Linked DNA regions of Homo sapiens: all the other regions are linked to region 1. The links are contacts of gene promoters, found by promoter capture Hi-C in human tissues and cell types (Jung and others, 2019). All regions are on one chromosome and are shown on one strand. Each heading gives the region's core, a stretch centred on a gene start or on the middle of the fragment in contact. The rest is flanking DNA. Distances are from core to core; before and after follow the strand shown. Region 1 holds the start of FEM1A (fem-1 homolog A). Region 2 holds the start of PLIN5 (perilipin 5). Region 3 overlaps KDM4B (lysine demethylase 4B).

Region 1 (4,306 bases), core at 1,300-3,799:
AGGTTGTGGTGAGCCAAGATCGTACCATTGCATTCCAGCCTGGACAATGAGAGTGAAACTCCGTCTCAAAAAAAAAAAAAAAGAAAAGAAAAAAAGAAAAAGAAAACAACAACAACAAAAAAAGAATACTTACACTCGTAGGCATTACCCAAGAGAAATGAAAACATATTTCCACACAAAGACCTGTACGCAGAAGTTTATAGCAGCTTTATTTGTAATCATCTAAAACTGGAAAGAACCATCACGTAATGGATAAAAGAATGGTGGCTCGTTCTTGCCATGGAATACAGCTCCGTAATAAAAGGCAACGAACTGCTAATACACGTAACAGCATAGATGCATCTTGAATGCATTGTGCTGAATGAAAGCTGCAGACCCCAGAGGCCGCATACTGCATTTTTCCGTTTCTGTGCTGTTAGTATGAAACGCAGAGAACAGATCAGCAGTTACCAGTGGCTGCGGGTGGACAAAGGCGTTGATCAACAGGGCATGAGATAACATTCTTTTTTTTTGAGACGGAGTCTCGCTCTGTCGCCCAGGCTGGAGTGCAGTGGCGCGATCTCGGCTCACTGCAAGCTCTGCCTCCCGTGTTCACGCCATTCTCCTGCCTCAGCCTCCCGAGTAGCTGGGACTACAGGCGCCTGCCACCACGCCCGGCTAATTTTTTGTATTTTTAGTAGAGACGGGGTTTCACCGTGTTAGCCAGGATGGTCTCGATCTCCTGACCTCGTGATCCACCCATCTCGACCTCCCAAAGTGCTGGGATTACAGGCGTGAGACACCGCGCCCGGCCGGCATGAGATAACAATTCTGAATGAAGACGCTGTTGAACATCTTGGTTGTGATACTGGCTACATAGCTGCATGTTTGTCACACCTGTTCTCTTTATTTATTTTTATTTATTTATCTTAGAGACAGGGTCTCCCTCTGTCACCCAGGCTGAAGTACAATGGTGCAATCACGGCTCACTGCAGCCTTGACCTCCTAGGTTCAAGCGATCCTCCCACTTCAGCCTCCCGAGTAGCTGAGACAACAGGTGCACGCTACCACGCCCGGCTAATTTTTCTATTTTTGTAGAGATGTGCTATGTTTCCCAGGCTGGTCTCGAATTCCTGGGTTCAAGCAATCCTCCCACCTCAGCCTCCCAAAGTGCTGAGATTACAGGTGTGAGTCACCTTGCCCGGCCAAACCTGTCCTCTTTATTAAAAATGCATTTTATTGTATATATATTACACCTCGAATAAACTTTAAAAATAAAGAATTCGGGTCACCAAAGATTTCTTTTTCATAATATAATTCATTGTTGTCAAAAAATGCCAGGGAATGGATCACCTTACAACTGCTAGAATAGCTATCATCAAAAAGACGAAAGGTAACAAACGTTGGCAAGGATTTGAAGAGAACACTTATACACTACTGATGGTAATTTTAATTAGTATAGCCATTATAGAAAATGGTATGGAAGTTCCAAAGAAAAATTTAAAAATAAAACTACCAGGTGATCCAGGAATCCCACTTCTGGGTCTTTATCCAAAGGAATTGAAGTCAGCACGTCAGGCCGGGCATAGTGGCTCACGCCTGTAATTCTAGCACTTTGGGAGGCTGAGGCGGGCGGATCTCCCAAGGTCAGGAGTTCGAGACCATCCTGGCCAACATGGCGAAACCCGTCTCTACCAAAAATACAAAAATTAGCCGGGCGTGGTGGTGGATGTCTGTAGTCCCAGCTACTCGGGAGGCTGAGGCACGAGAATCACTTGAACCCGGGAGGCAGAGGTTGCAGTGAGCCGAGATTGCGGCATTGCCCTCCAGCCTAGGCAACAAGAGCGAGACGCTGTCTCAAAAACAAAAACCAAAACCAAAAAACCCCACAAAGTTATTGAAAGAAATAAATAAAAATAAATACGTAAATAAAAGAAGGAAATTCTGACACATACTAGAATATACATAAATGTATGTAAATGAATAAATGAATATATGAATGTGAGAATAAGAAGTGAGCGCGTCATTTTTTACCGTTCTCCCAGCTCAAAACGTTTTCGCCCCGTCCAGCTTTTCGGCCTCCTCCGGGCGCCCCCTGCCGGTGGGCCGCTTGCCCGTGCTCCAAGCCCAAAACAGACGCGTCCCCTCTAGTCGCTTTTAGCCTTCGGTCTCGGTCCTGATTGGCTCAGAGTCGCTCGTGATCCCTTTTGGGAAATGTAGTCCTTAAGGGTATCGCGCCTGCTTTTTCTATACGCTCTGACGCAGAGATAGCCACGGGAAGTACGTCACCAAATTTCGCCGGTTCCCACAAGCTAGGTCGTGTGACGCTGCATGACGGGAATTGTAGTCCTCAAATTGCTAGCTTCCGATGCCATGCGCTGCGACTGGAACGCCAATTCCCACCATGCCGCGCGCTCACAGCTCTCAGGGGCTGTCCTGTGGCCTTTGGGGAAGTGTAGTCTTGAGCCCCCAAGATTCCTTTTCTGTTCTATGGAGTGGGCCCGCGCAAAGGACTCCATTTCCCGGCGTGCTGCCATCCGTCGGGTCGCGGCAGCCATTTTGTTCCGCCCGAGGAGACCCTAAGATGGCGGCGAGGGGGACGGTGAAGGTTGCCTCCCGCCCGTCCGGGCTCTGATCCTCCGTCTCCCCGTCCCCCGGCGGCCGGCCCATGGCCTGGCGGAGGCCCGAACCATGGACCTCCGCACCGCCGTGTACAACGCCGCCCGTGATGGCAAGCTGCAGCTGCTCCAGAAGCTGCTCAGCGGCCGGAGCCGGGAGGAACTGGACGAGCTGACGGGCGAGGTGGCCGGCGGGGGAACGCCGCTACTCATCGCCGCCCGCTACGGCCACCTGGACGTGGTGGAGTACCTGGTGGACCGGTGCGGCGCGAGCGTGGAGGCCGGTGGCTCGGTGCACTTCGATGGCGAGACCATCGAGGGCGCGCCGCCGCTGTGGGCCGCCTCCGCAGCCGGCCACCTGGACGTGGTGCGGAGCCTGCTGCGCCGCGGGGCCTCGGTGAACCGCACCACGCGCACCAACTCCACGCCTCTCCGCGCCGCCTGCTTCGACGGCCACCTGGAGGTGGTGCGCTACCTGGTCGGCGAGCACCAGGCCGACCTGGAGGTGGCCAACCGGCACGGCCACACGTGCCTCATGATCTCGTGCTACAAGGGCCACCGTGAGATCGCCCGCTACCTGCTGGAGCAGGGCGCCCAGGTGAACCGGCGCAGCGCCAAGGGCAACACGGCCCTGCATGACTGCGCCGAGTCCGGCAGCCTGGAGATCCTGCAGCTGCTGCTGGGGTGCAAGGCCCGCATGGAACGTGACGGCTACGGCATGACCCCGCTGCTCGCGGCCAGCGTGACGGGCCACACCAACATCGTGGAGTACCTCATCCAGGAGCAGCCCGGCCAGGAGCAGGTCGCAGGGGGAGAGGCTCAGCCTGGGCTGCCCCAAGAAGACCCCTCCACCAGCCAGGGGTGTGCGCAGCCTCAGGGGGCTCCGTGCTGCAGCTCCTCCCCAGAGGAACCACTGAACGGGGAATCTTACGAAAGCTGCTGTCCCACCAGCCGGGAAGCTGCCGTGGAAGCCTTGGAATTGCTGGGAGCTACGTATGTGGATAAGAAACGAGATCTGCTTGGGGCCCTTAAACACTGGAGGCGGGCCATGGAGCTGCGTCACCAGGGGGGCGAGTACCTGCCCAAACCGGAGCCCCCACAGCTGGTCCTGGCCTATGACTATTCCAGGGAGGTCAACACCACCGAGGAGCTGGAGGCGCTGATCACCGACCCGGATGAGATGCGCATGCAGGCCCTGTTGATCCGGGAGCGCATCCTCGGTCCCTCGCACCCGGACACTTCCTATTACATCCGTTACAGGGGTGCCGTGTACGCCGACTCGGGCAATTTCGAGCGCTGCATCCGCTTGTGGAAGTACGCCCTGGACATGCAACAGAGCAACCTGGAGCCTCTGAGCCCCATGACCGCCAGCAGCTTCCTCTCCTTCGCGGAACTCTTCTCCTACGTGCTTCAGGACCGGGCCGCCAAAGGCAGCCTGGGCACCCAGATCGGCTTTGCAGACCTCATGGGGGTTCTCACCAAAGGGGTCCGGGAAGTGGAACGGGCCCTGCAGCTGCCCAGGGAGCCCGGAGACTCAGCCCAGTTCACCAAGGCGCTGGCCATCATCCTCCACCTGCTCTACCTGCTGGAGAAAGTGGAGTGCACCCCCAGCCAGGAGCACCTGAAGCACCAGACCGTCTACCGCCTGCTCAAGTGCGCGCCCAGGGGCAAGAACGGCTTCACCCCTCTGCACATGGCTGTGGACAAGG
Region 2 (3,873 bases), core at 1-2,500, 260 kb before region 1:
AATACCTTCTGTCCCTGCTCCATGGGAGGGGCAGCCCTCACCTGCTGGTCCTGCTCCCACACACTGGATCTGGGGATCTGAGCCGCCTCTTCTTCAGACATCGTGCTGCAAACAGGGTCACCCTGCGGGGCAGGATTGAGTAAGGGGAGCACCTGCCCAGGCATCAGATCCTGTCAAATTGGGCTCTGTGACTTGAGCAACTCTCAAACCTCTTGGGGCCTCAGTTTCTTCATCTGCATAATGGGGCATTCTGTGGAGCTCAGACAATGCATGTCCAGAGCTCTGTACACAGAGGGTGTCCAATAATGAGCCTCTGGCAAGGTAGGGTTGCCGGAGTGACTCGAAGCATGGTCTCTGAGGTGAGAAAGACCTGGGTTCAAATGCTACCATTAATTGCGGTGTTATTTTTATTATTTTTTTAAAGACAGAATCTCTCTCGCCCAGGCTGGAGAGCAGTGGCGCCATCCCAGCTCACTGCAATTTCCGCCTCCCAGGTTCAAGTGATTCTCCTGCTTCAGCCTCCCAGTTAGCTGGGATTACCCACGTGCCACCATGCTCGGCTAATTTTTGTATTTTTAGTAGAAACCGGGTTTCGCCATGTTGCCCAGGCTGGTCTCAAACTCCTGGGCTCAAGTGATCTGCCCACCTCGGCCTCCCAAAGTGCTGGGATTACAGGCATGAGACACTGCACCTGGCCAGCTGTGTGATTTTTGGCAAGCACCTTCACCTCTCTGGGCTGCTTCCTGTTTTGTAAGATGTGGGAGGTCCCTGCTACCCCTGCGGCCCCTGCCTGGGCCCAGAACTGCCCAAGCACCCTAGACGGCTGGAGGTGGTAGCTGCTGGGTCCCAGTCCACTCACAGCTCATTTGACAGACAGGGCAACTGAGGTACGCAGCAGGTCCATGCTGGTCCCAAGGTCACGCAGCCAGCTAGAGTTACAGGGGGGGAGCTCGACCTCGGGCCTCAGACCTGCCGCCTGCGATCCCTCCGGTTGCCACCCCGCGTCCTCTGAGGCCTGGTCCTCGCCCAACTGGGTCCTGAGCTGGGGCCAACCGGGCCAAGGGTCCCAGCCACCTGCTCTGGCCGGTCATACCCGTCCCACGCCGCCGGACCTTCGCCCAACCACCCTATCTGGAGCTCCTCTCCTAAGCCCGGGGGGGCGCTCCCGGACGCCGCCCTCAGGGCACTCACCTGGGCGCGAGCGGCTTCAGACACCAGCTGTCTCCGCCGACCCCAGGCTCGAGTCTCCACACCCCCGCCGGTCCCGCCCGCCCTTCTTATAGCTGCTCGCGCAGTGGGGGCCTCCGGAACTGACCAATGGGGAGAGGCCGTGCGGGGGCGTGCCCAGGGGGCGTGGCTCCAGGCTTCCCTCGCCCTCTCCTTGAGCTGGCCCAGTGCCCTACGGTTGCCATAGTAATTCGGGAGCGCTAGATTCAAAAGATTGAGCTATTATACGTTCCCGGACCAAGTTTGGCCACCTGTCATCCTCACTGCTGTTGCCATAGAGACAGTCCATGCGATCACAGCCCCCATAGCCCTGCTGAGTGACCTTGGCCAACTCGCTGATGACTTTTCTTATTAATTATTATTATTTATCGATTTTTGAGACTGGGTCTTGCTCGGTTGCCCAGGGCTAGAGTGCAGTGGTGTGATCATAGCTCACTGCAGCCTTGCCCTCCCAGGCTGAGGTGATCCTCCCGCCTCAGTCTCCTAAGTAGCTGGGACCACAGGCACACACCACCACCCCCAGCTAACTTTTTAAACTTTTTGTAGAGACGAGATGTCCCTGTGTTGACCAGGCTTGTCTTCAACCCCTGAGCCCCAAGTGATCCTTCCACCTCAGCCTTCCAAATTGCTGGGATTACAGGTGTGAGCCATTGCACCCAGCCTCTTTTTATTTCTTAATCTGCCCCTTAACTAAGCCAGAAGCCAGGCCTTCCCTTTCCCTAGGATCCCCATTTCACAGATGAGCAAGCTGAGGCTCAGAGATCATAAAACACTTGCCCCGCATACCACAGCAAGTGAGGGATCCTATTCCTTTTTTTTCTTTTTTTTTTTTTGAGACAGAGTCTGACTCTGTCGCCCAGGCTGGAGTGCAGTGGCGCGATCTTGACACACTGCAACCTCCGCCCCCTGGGTTCAAGTGATTCTCCTGCCTCGGCCTCCGGAGTAGCTGGGATTACAGGCGCCTGCCACCACACCTAGCTAATTTTTGTATTTTTAGTAGAGACGGGGTGTCACCATATTCGTCAGGCTGGTCTTGGACTCCTGACCTCGTGATTTGCCTGCCTTGGCCTCCCAAAGTACTAGGATTACAGGCATGAGCCACCGTGCCCGGCCAGGGATCCTATTCAAACCCAGCCCTGCTGGACCTCAGAACCCTGCCTTTTCATTGCCTTGCCTGGAATGACCACAGATGTAGGCATGGTCTTTTTATTTTTATTTTTATTTTTGAGACACAGTTTCACTCTGTCGCCCAGCCTGGAGTGCAGTGGCGTGATCTTGGCTCACTGCAACCTCCGCCTCCCAGGTTCAAGTGATTCTCCTGCCTGACCCTCCCAAGTAGCTGGTATTACAGGCACGTGCCACTGTGCCTGGCTAATTTTTGTATTTTTAGTAGAGACAGGGTTTTGCCATGTTGGCCAGTCTGGTCTCGAACTCCTGACCTCCGGTGATCTGCCTGCCTCAGCCTCCCAAAGTGTTTGGATTACAGGCATGAGCCACGGCGCCAGGCTGCATGGTCATTTTTTAGGGAGCTGGGAAAACTGGACATGCCCCCAAGCCCCAGGGTCTTCCAAATCCGATTGCAGCCCCCACATGGCCAATGCTGTATCAGCAGGTGGGCCCGGGACCCTGCTCATCCCTTCAGCCCCATCCTGCCCCTGCAACCTTGCCCGGGGGCAGGTGCCCCCTTCGATGATCTCAGGTCAGCATGACAAATCGTTTGGAGACCTGGGCAATCTGGTTTAACTTAAACCTTCTCCTAGGACACAAGCCCTGGCAGAAATCCACTGGTAAAATGACACCCGGGCAACAGTCAAGGTTTTATTTCCAGTTAGGTCCCAGGATGGGGGAAGGGAGAGGAGAAGTCACAGGCCATTGATCCCAACTGTCATCCCCTAGGGAGACCATATCCCACACCCCAGGGCCTGGGCCATGCCTCTTTTCCTCCTTCACCCTGGAGTCCTGGGAAGTTGATTTGAGAAGATGCTAGGAACACAATGAAAGCCAATTCATCCGATCCAGTTTTCAAGGGTTATTTATTAAACCCCTTGGTTCTGACCCCAAGCTAAGTGGGACTCAGCATCAGACCCTGCACTCAGAGAGCCCCCTGACTTGGGGAAGACAGAGTCAGAGAAAGGCAGCCCCAGTGTGGCCAGGGCTCAGCTGGAAGGAAGGACAAGGGGCTGGGAGAACCCAGAGTTCAAGAGATCTGGGAAACAGGGAACGGCATTCCAGACGGAGGGCACACCTTGGGCATGGGTAAGGAAAGCCCATCGTGTGTTCTAGGAAGCATGGATGGATGAAACGGGGTCCCAGCCGCTATGGACAGCCCCGAGTTTCACCTGTAAAAGGCAGGATTATTTGTTTTTAATTTTAATTTTAATTTTTTTGAGACAGTCTTGCTCTGTCGCCCAGGCTAGAGTGCAGTGGCACGATCTTGGCTCACCGCAAGCTCCGCCTCCCAAGTTCACGCCATTCTCCTGCCTCAGCCTCCCGAGTTGCTGGGACTACAGGTGCCCACCACCACGCCTGGCTAATTTTTTATATTTTTAGTAGAGACAGGGTTTCACCATGTTAGCCAAGATGGTCTCGATCTCCTGACCTCGTGATCCGCCCACCTGGGCCTCCCAAAGTGCTGGGATTACAGGC
Region 3 (4,450 bases), core at 1,246-3,745, 350 kb after region 1:
TGGCGGTGGCCTGCCTGGGGGCTCGCGTTGTCTCCTGGCTGGGAGGCTCTTCACTCTGCTTTGCTGGGCCTGGGTTTGAGATGTGCCCCCGGGGCAGATGGGCTCCCTGGGGGAAGGGTTGCCGAGGGTCCCAGGCCTGCCACAGCCGGGCCGCCCCAGCCAGGCTACCCCAGCAGACGCCCCCACCCCCAGCCGTGCCCACCACCCTGCTGCTCTGGAGGCAGTGAGGTCCCCGCCCCCAGCCTCTTCAGTGGGCCATCAGCACTGGCAGAGAGCCCCTTCCACACTGGGGGCAGTGATCCCCAGCAGAGGCAGAGCCCTGGGGGGCAGGCGGCACCCCTGCCCTCGCTCTGGGGGCATGATTCGGCCTTTTGTGCCCTTTCCCCATTTCCAGACCCAGGGCCACATCCCACAGTGAGTCTCCCTTGCGGCTTTGGCCTTTCTGGACATAGCAGGAGGAGCTGCTGTTGGGGGTGCAGACACCCAACAAGGAGGGGCCCTCAAGACACCACCAGGCTGAGCGCGGCAGACCCAGCTGGAGCTCAGGGTCCCTGCTTCCCCTCCTGCGTCCTCTTTCCACACAAGTAGCTTCCAGACCTTTCTCTCGCTCCACATGCAGTGGCCTGGATTGAAGCTCAGAGGGTGGGAACAGCACGCACCCTGAATGCTGCAGCTGCGTGCGGAGGCCTCGTCACTCCACATACGGACACTGGCCCCCAAGTTACCCGGCCCCTCCCCCTGAGTTTCACTCGGCTCCCCAAGTCTCACCTGCCCCCCAGATCTCAGCCAGCCCCCGCTGTCTTCCAGGTTGCTATGGCATCCGTCCCGAGCTGGTCAATGAAGGCTGGACGTGTTCCCGGTGCGCGGCCCACGCCTGGACTGCGGTAACTCGCTCCCCGCAGCGGGGGTGGTGCTCTGAGAGGCCTGGGCCCCGGCCCCACTCCAGTGGGGTGACTTTGGGGCGTAGTCTCCCCTCCGTGGGCCTGGGTTCCTTCACCTCTGCCCTGAGGGGGTGGAACCCAAGGGATTCCCACCCGTCACTTTGGTGGCTGCTAGGTTGAAATATAAGGGCCGTGGGCTGGGGACGGTTGGCAGATCAGGCCCCAAGCAGTGTGTGGGGAGCCTGCTCCGAGCCCTGCTCATCCAGGGCTGTCTGGTCTCCACAGGAGTGCTGCCTGTGCAACCTGCGAGGAGGTGCGCTGCAGATGACCACCGATAGGAGGTGGGTGGCACCGCGCGTTGGGGCTGGAGGGCCGGAGGGGAGCCTGCCCTGGGCTGAGGCTCTGCAGGGTGTGACCCCAGTGCCTAGGGGTTGACCATCACCTCCACATAACCGCCCTGTGTCATGGATGGGGTGGCCAGGGCTGAGGAGGAGCATACGCCTGCACCGACCTTCCTGAAGTTCCCCAGGCCCTGACCCAGCCGACAGCCACATCACGCCCAGCCCCTCTGTGACCAGCCCAGGTCCTCAGAGGCGCACCTGACCCCGCTGCACCTGCCCTCCCAGGTGGATCCACGTGATCTGTGCCATCGCAGTCCCCGAGGCGCGCTTCCTGAACGTGATTGAGCGCCACCCTGTGGACATCAGCGCCATCCCCGAGCAGCGGTGGAAGCTGGTAGGTCCTTGCGGTCGAGGCCCACCCTGCCCGTGCCTCTAGGGCTGCCGGCCATGCTCGGCTCCCCACCTGCGCGATCTGAAGCGGTCTTTCCTCCAAGCTCTGCGTCTCCATGGGGGTGGTGGGCAGCTTTCAGGAAGCCAGTGATCCCGACTTCAGCAGGTGTGTTATTTTTTGAATCCTTCCCCGAGGTGCAAGGTACAAAAATCAGAAGGCATCAAGGGTGGCAGAGATAAGCAGGCCCCGTCAGGTGTGGCCTTGGGGGCATCCTCTGCAGAATCGAGCACCCCATGCAGTTTCCACCTTCCCACAAAAGCAGAGGCACCGCACGTGCCCCGACACAACCGGGCTGTCTGATCTTTGCTGTTTTTCTAATAATTATAACAAGCCTGGGCAACACGATGAGACCCCATCTCTATAAAAAAAATAAAAAACACTAGCTGGGCGTGGTGGCACACACCTGTGGTCCCAGCTACTCGGGAGGCTGAGGTGGGAGGATCGCCTGAGCCCGGGATACCCAGGCTGCAGTGAGCTGTGATGGCACCATTACACTGCAGCCTAGACAACAGAGCCAGGCACTGTCTCAAAAAAAAACAAACAATTGTAACAATGCTTAGCGTGAGATCTGCCCTCTTAAGAAGCATCTGAGGTTCAGTACAGCATTCACCACGGGCCCAGTGGTGGGCAGCAGGGCTCTGCGGCCCGCTCACCCGTCCTGTATAACTGACACTTCACACGTGCTAAGCAGCAGCTCCCTCCGCCCACCCCAGCACCCAGCACTCTGCTTCTGTGTGTTTGCCTGTGTTATAGACCCCACGTGAGTGGGATTGTACAGTCTTTATTCTTCTGCGACCGGCTTCTTTCTTAAGAGACAGGGTCTCTCACTCTGTTACCCAGGCTGGAGTGCAGTGGTGTGATCACAGCTCTCTGCAGCCTCAAACTCCTGGGCTCAAGCGATCATCCCGCCTCAGCCTCCTGAGTAGCTGGGACCACAAGCACGTGCCAAAAAGTTAGGTTAACTCCCAATTTTTTTTTAAAAGATGGGGTCTCACTATGTTGCCCAGGCTGGTTTGGAACTCCTGGCCTTGAGATCTTCCTGCCTTGGCCTCCTGGGTAGCTGGGATTACAGGCGCGAGTGGTGTCTTTCATTTGGCATAGTTTCCTCAAGGTTCATCCACATTCATTCAACCCAAATATGGCAGGAGTTCCTTCTTTTCCTGGCTCAGTGATGTGCCACCATGTGGATGGACGACGTTGTGTTGATCCGGGCACCCGCCGATGTCTCTGCCTTCAGGCTGTTGTGGGTTGCGCCGCAGCGGATGTGGGAGTGTGGTTGTGGTTTGGAGATTCTGATGTCATTTCCTGTGGATACAGACCCAGCAGTGGGCTTGCTGGACCGTCGGGCAGCTCTGTTTTTAGCACTGGAGGAAACTGCTCTCCCTTGCGGCTGGACGGACTCCCATCCGCACCCCCCGGGTGCAGGGCTTTCCCCTTCCCCTCGTCCTCACTCACACCTACCTTTGACTTTTTTGTAGCAGCCGCCCTAGCAGGTGCGAGGTGGTCTCGCTATGGTTTGATTTGTGTTCTCCTGGCGGTCAGTGACGCTGGGCATCTTTGCACAGTCCTGTTGGCCATCTGCATGCCGTCTTTGGAGAAACGTCTGTTCTGCTCCTTCGCCCATTCCGTGCCTGGGTTGCTTGGCCTTTTGTGGTTGAGTTGGAGGATCTCTGCTGCTCCACTCTTGGTGCACATTGAGGCCCCCCGTAGATGCGCGCAGCCACCTTGGGCGTAGCGGGGCCTCATCGTGGGGGCTTGTGAAGCTTCCTCCTGCTCTCAGCAATGATGGCCCCCCTTTGGGGAACCCCTTGGAGCCACAGGGCAGTCAGGAGTGGTCAGTGCTGGCCACCAGCTGGCTGTGCACTTGGGACAGATTCCTCGACCTCTCTGTGCCTCGGCCGTCCCTTCTGTGCTGTGGGGTTGCCACAGTCCCCGCCATGCAGGGTTGCAGTGGTGTGAGCTGGGCCCACTCCCTAAAGCATGGACCACCCTGTCTGAGCACTAGCAGCTGCTCAGGGCTTGTCAAATCTGCAGCCTCGCTCCCCCAGGCCCCCAGTGTCACCTACTGCATTTGATCCACACAGTGAGAGCCTGTGGGGTCATCCTGCACTGTCTGTTCTGCAGGTGAGGAGCCTGGGGCCTGGAGGGGCTTGGCCGATCATGGCCTGGGCTGCAGCCCTGCAGGGCTGTCTGCTGCACACCCTGTAGCCCACCTGCGCACAAGGCACTTGGGGCTGTCCACGCCTGCTGGAAAATGACACTCAGCTGGCCCTTTAAATCAGCTTCCTGCAGAGCCTTGGGACCTGGCCCAGAAAGAAGATGAGGAGGCCAGGCCTGGTGGCTCATGCCTGTAATCCCAGCACTTTGGGAGGCCGAGGCGGGTCGATCTCCTGAGGTCAGGAGTTCGAGACCAGCCTGGCCAACATATGAAACCCCGTCTCTACTGAAAATGCAAAACTTAGCTCTGCATGGCGGGACGTGCCTGTGATCCCAGCTACTCGGGAGACTAAGGCGGGAGAATTGCTTGAACCTGGGCGGCGGAGGTTGCAGTGAGCTGAGATTGCGCCACTGCACTCCAGCCTGGGCGACAGAGTAAGACTCTGTCTCAAAAAAAAAAAGATGAGGAGAGCAAAATGCAGATGTTGCTGGGGCCGCGTCCCCACTAAGGGCTGTGCATGTGGCAGCGCTGATGGGGAGGACGCATTTGTCCCTGTGCACTCCGGCCTCTGCACACGTGTCTCGTGGGCCCCTGGAGGCTGGGCCCGCAGCCAGTAGCA

Evidence for each region. The method cuts DNA at HindIII sites, captures the fragments that hold promoters and counts their contacts. A contact is called where the count stands out against the background at its distance.
Region 2: a contact is called between the fragment with the promoter of PLIN5 here and the fragment with the promoter of FEM1A in region 1, in 4 of the 25 tissues and cell types used here (lymphoblastoid cells, mesenchymal stem cells, spleen and 1 more).
Region 3: a fragment that was not itself captured here is called in contact with the fragment with the promoter of FEM1A in region 1 in 1 of the 25 tissues and cell types used here (lymphoblastoid cells).

Annotation. Positions count from the first base shown.
Region 1 is chr19:4,789,185-4,793,490 of GRCh38, forward strand. FEM1A (fem-1 homolog A) reads left to right here and starts at 2,550. Exons shown (of 1, transcript NM_018708.3): 1 at 2,550-4,306. The coding sequence starts at 2,671. LOC124904620 (a long non-coding RNA gene) reads right to left here and starts at 2,108. Exons shown (of 2, transcript XR_007067103.1): 1 at 2,014-2,108. RefSeq lists enhancers at 2,203-2,860, 2,371-2,640, 2,861-3,517, 3,171-3,230, 3,518-4,174. The HindIII fragment of the contact is 32,697 bases long and covers 1-4,306 here.
Region 2 is chr19:4,533,974-4,537,846 of GRCh38, forward strand. It overlaps PLIN5 (perilipin 5), which reads right to left and starts at 1,251. Exons shown (of 8, transcript NM_001013706.3): 1 at 1,192-1,251; 2 at 42-122. The coding sequence starts at 101. It overlaps LRG1 (leucine rich alpha-2-glycoprotein 1), which reads right to left. Exons shown (of 2, transcript NM_052972.3): 2 at 2,429-3,873. RefSeq lists an enhancer at 402-957. The HindIII fragment of the contact is 58,476 bases long and covers 1-3,873 here.
Region 3 is chr19:5,136,455-5,140,904 of GRCh38, forward strand. It overlaps KDM4B (lysine demethylase 4B), which reads left to right. Exons shown (of 23, transcript NM_015015.3): 16 at 808-884; 17 at 1,167-1,222; 18 at 1,508-1,616. Among named protein-coding and RNA genes, the nearest start is that of PTPRS-AS1, 39 kb to the right of the region's middle. RefSeq lists enhancers at 788-1,289, 1,290-1,789, 2,812-2,911. The HindIII fragment of the contact is 3,759 bases long and covers 617-4,375 here.